2 separate regions of the Homo sapiens genome follow, and region 1 is linked to region 2. Evidence: promoter capture Hi-C in human tissues and cell types (Jung and others, 2019). All regions are on one chromosome and are shown on one strand. Each heading gives the region's core, a stretch centred on a gene start or on the middle of the fragment in contact. The rest is flanking DNA. Distances are from core to core; before and after follow the strand shown.

Region 1 (3,314 bases), core at 115-2,614, 540 kb before region 2:
AATAAAAAGTTCATTAACAGTTTGACTCAAGAATGAGTTATCTGGTGCCTGACATGATTAGAATGCTGCCTGAAAGGCCTTTCTGCACTGATTATATGCATACAGTTTCTCTCTATTATGAATGATCTGGTGTTCCATAAGGTCAGATAGTCTCCTGAAGGCTTTTTCACATTTAGACATTCATGTTGGCTTTTGCCCATATGAATTTTTTGGTGCATACACAATAATAATTCTGTCTGAAAGTTTTTCCACGTTGACTACATTTATAGGCTTCTCTCCAGAATGAGTTATTTGCTGTTCAATAAGGTGAGAATTCTTGCTGCGGGATTTTCCACACCAGTGACATTCATGAGGTTTCTCTCTAATGTGAAATCTCTGATGCCATATAAGTAATCAGCTCCAGCTGATTTCCTACACTCAGGACACTCGCAGTTTCTCACCGGTATGATTTATCTGATGAGCAACAAGTGAGAACTCTAACTGAACCATTTCCAACACTGATTACAGTCACGAAGCTTCTTTCCAGTATGAGTTATTTTATGTGCAACAAGGCCAGAGCTGTATAGAAAGATTTCCTACCTTGACTACATTCATAAGGCTTCTCTCTATTACACTTTCCCTGATGCCAATTAAAATCAAGGATGTCACTGAAATATTTCTCACATTGATTACATGGAATTGTTTTTCTTCAGTATGAGTTTTCTATTGCCCAATTAGATGAGATCTCCTGCTGAAAGCTCTCTGACGTTCCCGATGTTCCCAGAGTCTTCAGTATACGTCTAACAAGGTGGGAGCACCAGGCTGAAAAACTTTCCACATTGATTACATTCATAAATTTTCTATCTGGTATAAGTTGTGATGTGCAACTAGGTGAGAGCTCCATCAAAAAGATTTACCATGTTGAATACATCCATGGGGTTTCTCTCCAGGATGAGTCCTCCCCCTTTGAGAAAGGCAAGAGCTATAAAAGAAGTTTTTCTCAAATTTATTATAATCACATGAATTATTTTATTTTTTTTTTTGAGTCTTGCTTTGTTGCCCAGGCTGTAGTGCAGTGGTGCGATCTCTGCTCACTGCAAGTTCCGCCTCCTGGGTTCATGCCACTCTCCTGCTTCAGCCTCTGGAGTAGCTGGGATTACAGACCCCCGCCACTATGCCTGGCTAATTTTGTTTTTGTATTTTTAGTACAGATGGAATTTCACCGTGTTAGCCAGGATGGTCTCGATCTCCTGACCTCGTGATCCGCCCACCTCGGCCTCCCAAAGTGCTGAGATTACAGGCGGGAGCCACCGTGCCTGGCCAAATTATTTTATCTTTTAAGATTCTCTGGTGTACATTTAGGGATATACTGGGGGTTGTTTTTTGTTTTTTCCTTTTGGCCAGTAGAGATCTAGTGTTGTTCAAGTTGTCTATATTTACTATAGTTATAAAATTTTCCTCCTGTATGACTTTTCTTCTGAATATTAAAGGGTAAAACATGGCAGAAATAAAGATTATTGTTGGCATGCTTATACAGTTTATCTTTTGTTTGCTTTCTTATTAGATGATTAAGGTGAAGCTCTGACAGAAAGTTGGTACACACTCATTTTTGCACAATTTTTCACTTCCATAATTTTTTTTTTTGAGACAGAGTCTCGTTCTGTCGCCCAGGCTGGAGTGCAGTGGTGCGATCTTGGCTCACTGCAACCTCTGCCTCCCAGGTTCAAGCAATTCTCCTTCCTCAGCCTCCTGAGTAGCTGGGATTATGGGCGCGCACCACCACGCCCTGCTAATTTTTGTACTTTTAGTAGAGTCGGGGTTTCACTATGTTGATCAGCTGGTCTCGAATCCCTGACCTCGTGATCTGCCAGCCTCGGCCTCCCAAAGTGCTGGGATTACCGGCATGAGCCACCGTGCCCGACTATAATTTTTCTAATGATTATTGAAATAAACTTATTTTTCAAACTTTTATTCTGTGAGCCAGGTTTATGGAAATATTATAGTATGAATTATCTGGAGTGGAAAAAAGTTGGAACTCAGGAAATAACAGAAAATTCAAATAGAAGATGACATAGACTCCCATCCTGAAATTAAATCTTATGTTTTCATTTTTGGATGACTCTCGTTTTTGCCCAAGTGCATGCTCACTTTTACATGTCTAGAAAAACTTCATACCTTGTGGCTGGGCTCAGTAGCTCACGCCTGTAATTCCAGCACTTTGAGAGGCTGAAGTGGGCAGACCACAAGGTCAGGAGTTCAAGACCAGCCTGACCAACGCGGTGAAACCCTGTCTCTACTAAAAATACAACAATTAGCCAGGCATGGTGGCGGGAGGCTCAGCTACTCGGGAGGCTGAGGCAGGAGAATTGATTGAATCTGGGAGGCAGAGGTTGCAGTGAGCCAAGGTCATGCCATTGCATTCCAGCCTGGGCAACAGGGCAAGACTGTCTAAAAAAAAAAAAAAAAAAAGAAAAAGAAAAAAAAAAACTTCATACATTGAACCTTACATTCATATTTTCTCTTAACTAATTATAGCAGACATCACTTTCAATTTGCTCCAGCCTACTTCTTCCCCCTCATCTGCACCTCTTTCAGTGTAAAATCCTAGCATTCACCTCCCACACTCTTCTCTATTTCCAAACACAACATAAACAATACTGTAGTAAACACCCCCGGACACCCAGAATTAGTGCCTTCATTTCTATAGGTCAGAGCCCCTCCAGTGGGACTGCACAAGTTGAAGGATAAGTGTATTTTTGATTCTCTTAGGTATTACCAAATTACTTTCCAAAGTGAGAATAATAGTCCCTATTCTTTCCAGCATTGGGTATTATCCTTTGTATTTTGCCAGTATTTTGGGTAAAAGTAACATTTTGTGTAATTTGTATTCCCTAGCTACTTGTGATTTCAGGATCTTTACATATTCTTACTGGTTATTTGAGGTTTTGTTTTCTGTGTTTTGTCTAATTAATATTTTTTTCTTTTTTGGCACTTTATAGGCGTTCATGATAGTTTATCAATGTTAATCTCGTCTGTCATTTGTGTAACAAATATTTTTCTCAATACATAGTTTATTCTCTTTTTAAATTTATGGTATCTATTTTAGCATACAAAAAATTCTTTTTAGGCCAGATGCAGTGGCTCATGCTTGTAATCTCAGCACTTTGGGAAGCTCAGGCAAGAGAATCACTTGAGGCCAGTTCAAGACAGCCTGGCCAACATGGCAAAATCCATCTCTACTAAAAATACAATCATCAGCCAGGCCTGGCGGTGCATGCCTGTAATCCCAGCGACTCAGGCGGGTGAGGCATGAGAATCGTTTGAACTCAGGAGGC
Region 2 (2,945 bases), core at 382-2,881:
AAATGTGATCCACAGCTCCACCCCGGCCCACAGATTGTCCACTACCTTTTGGAAAAGTCTCCATTCTGAATCTCTCCTCACTGTTCCTGACCTACAGTTCCAGCAGCCCATGAACCATTCTCTGAAAGCTCTCATACTCTTAGCAGGTCAAAAATAAAACTTCTGATATCCCAAATGAAAACTACTCCTACTATGTACTTCCCCATCTTAGTTGATGGAGCTTCCACACTTCTAACTGCCAAAATAAAACCTTTCAGTCATCCCTGACTCCACTCTCTTTCTCAAAACTAAAAATTCAGGCAGCCCTACTTAAAAAATGAATCCAGAATCCAACTGCTTCTCGCATCTTCACAGCCACCATTTTGGCCTATCACATTCTATCACATTCACCTGGCCTATCCCAGTAGTCTCCTCCCAGGTCTCCCCACCTCATCCTTCAGTTGGCTTCCCATGCTGCAGCCACAGGGAGCCTAATAAGACCAGAACCAGATCACCTCCCTCTTCCACTCCAAACCTCCCACTGTTACTATTAAGTAACGAATAGACAACTCAACTTCTCAGGGAACCATTCCGGGTCTGACTTCTACTACACTGCTCCCTGTTCTCATGAAAAGAAAATAATTGTAGGTTCCTGAACTATCTTAGCCTCCTCTCCAAACTTAGCATATACTGGTAACTTTGCCTTGGACAACCTTCTACATCTCCTTTCCCCCGGCTGCCAACAGCTTCATATAATCTAACCTGGACTTAAGACTCTGGGCTTTGTATTTGCTCAAAGTCTCAGGGCCCAAGGCTAGACGAGTGGCGAGGCTCAGGTCGCCCAATGACCCTGGTCCAGTTTTGGAGCCAGGTGGCCTGGGCTGGCTGCACTATCTCCGCACCTCAGTTCTCAGTGCTGACTTTACCAGCTGCGTGAGCTTGGACAAGAACTCAGTCTTCCTATGCCTAACTACTATTACCTCTCTTCAGCCTGTTCTTCCCCTGAGCAACTTTTGGATAGCTTTAGGAAATCCTAGCCCAGTGTCCCTATCTGTTCACAAATCTCGAAGGCTGCCAGTGTCCTCAGAATCGTCAAATTCGTCAGGTGCAACTCTGCCTCACTCTATGTTCCTGCAGACCCGAGACGGACCCCAGGCTCCTGAATCCCCCCCAGCTTAGTCGCAGCTCCAAGTTCTGCACGCGCCAGTCAACTGCCCGTCACATTTCCGTACACACTGGGCGTCACAAACGGGTCCAATCCACAAGCGCCTTCTTGTCCAGGGTACTGGGGCCTGGGCTGCAGGGCTGTGAGCAGGCATCCCTCACTGGGCCTTAAGGCTTCTGCTGGGGGAGGTAGGCGAGACCCGGAGGACGCACAACTCACCTGAGCCGAGTCCCTCAGCGCGACTGCCGCCATTGAGCTCCGTGGACTAGGCGGGGAGCGGCGGCCGACCGGGGCGGGCATTCGAACACAACAGTCCCTATCCCGGGCCTGGCGCAGCTCACCCGAGGTGGTGTCGCAGAACCTCTGGCCCACTTTCGCGACTTCTCTGTCCCGTCCCTCAGTCGCGACCTCCACTGCAGAAACTGGCGGGCTGGACAAACAGGACAGAGGCCAAAATGACCGCCACGAGGAGGACGCCGGAAGTTCCGGCCCGTCGCGCTGCGCGTGCGCGGAAGTGTTGCTATCCTGGGCTGTCATTGGCTCAACTCCGCCGCCGTTTTGCGCTCTGCACTCTGGATAATGTAGTTTCCAAAACTCCACGGAGCTCTTCGGAGTGTGTCCACTGCTTTGACCTCTGCGAACTTGTATTCTGAGGTGCTGTGCCCCGTGCAGGGAAATGGCGACTTCGGCCTCTAGGGGAGAAGGAGGTATTTACTCCTTCTTAAAGGGGCTTTTCCCAGATTTCTGGGAAGTGTTTTCCGTAACTGATCACTTAAGTGTTTAGAGACATTATTTCAGACTCCACGAAGCTCAGGGTGCCCCTAGAGGCAAACAAATATTATTTCAGGGGGTTGGGCGCGGTGGCTCACGCCTGTAATCCCAGCACTTTAGAAGGCCGAGGCGGGCGGATCACCTGAGGTCAGAAGTTCGAGACCAGGCTGGCCAACATGGCGGAACCCCATCTCTACTAAAAATACAAAAATTAGTCGGGCGGGCCGGGCGCAGTGGTTCACGCCTGTAATCCCAGCACTTTGGGAGGCCAAGGTGGGTGGATCACGCGATCAGGAGTTCGAGACCAGCCTGGCCAACATGGTGAAACCCTGTCTCTACTAAAAATACAAAAATTAGCCGGGCATGGTGGCGAGCGCCTGTAATCCCAGTACTTGGGAGGCTGAGGCAGGAGAATCGTTTGAACCTGGGAGGCAGAGGTTGCAGTGAGTCGAGATCACGCCATTGCACTCCAGCCTGGGCGACAGGGGGAGACTCCGTCTCCAAAAAAAAAAAAAGAAAAAAAAAATTTGGATTTTGGAGCATTTTGGATTTTAGATTTTTGGCTCAGGGATATTCAACCTGTATTTTGTTCTCATTAAATAGGTTCCTCTTTCACTTTGTTATTGTTTGATATACTAAAGTTTTAATTTTCATGAAGTCTAATTGGTCTATTTTTCTTTTGTCACATGTGTATTTGGTGTCAAATCCAAGAAATTATGGCCAAATTCAATGTCATAAAACTTTCACCCTATATTTTCTTTTAAGTGTTTTATAGTTTTGGGTCTTATGTTTAGGTTTTTAGTCCATTTTGAGTTCATTTGTGTTTTTGGTGTTAGGTAAGGGTTCACCTTCATTCCTTAGCATGTGAATATTTCATTTTCCCAGCATCATTTGCTGAAAAGATCATCGTTTCCCCATTGAGTGGTCTTGGTAGCCTTGTTGAGATCATTTGACCATATACATTACTATTGCAAATGATATTGTTTTCTTAATTTCCTTTTCAGATTTTTCATTGTTAGTGTATGGAAGG

What was found. Contacts are between HindIII fragments. The study calls those that stand out against the background at their distance.
Region 1: a fragment that was not itself captured here is called in contact with the fragment with the promoter of ZNF551 in region 2 in 1 of the 25 tissues and cell types used here (dorsolateral prefrontal cortex).

What each region holds. Positions count from the first base shown.
Region 1 is chr19:58,222,173-58,225,486 of GRCh38, reverse strand. It overlaps the pseudogene LOC100419847. Among named protein-coding and RNA genes, the nearest start is that of ZNF544, 5.1 kb to the left of the region's middle. The HindIII fragment of the contact is 6,243 bases long and covers 1-3,314 here.
Region 2 is chr19:57,680,663-57,683,607 of GRCh38, reverse strand. It overlaps ZNF551 (zinc finger protein 551), which reads right to left and starts at 1,631. Exons shown (of 3, transcript NM_138347.5): 1 at 1,364-1,631. The coding sequence starts at 1,444. RefSeq lists a silencer at 1,191-1,260 and an enhancer at 1,316-1,939. The HindIII fragment of the contact is 9,267 bases long and covers 1-2,945 here.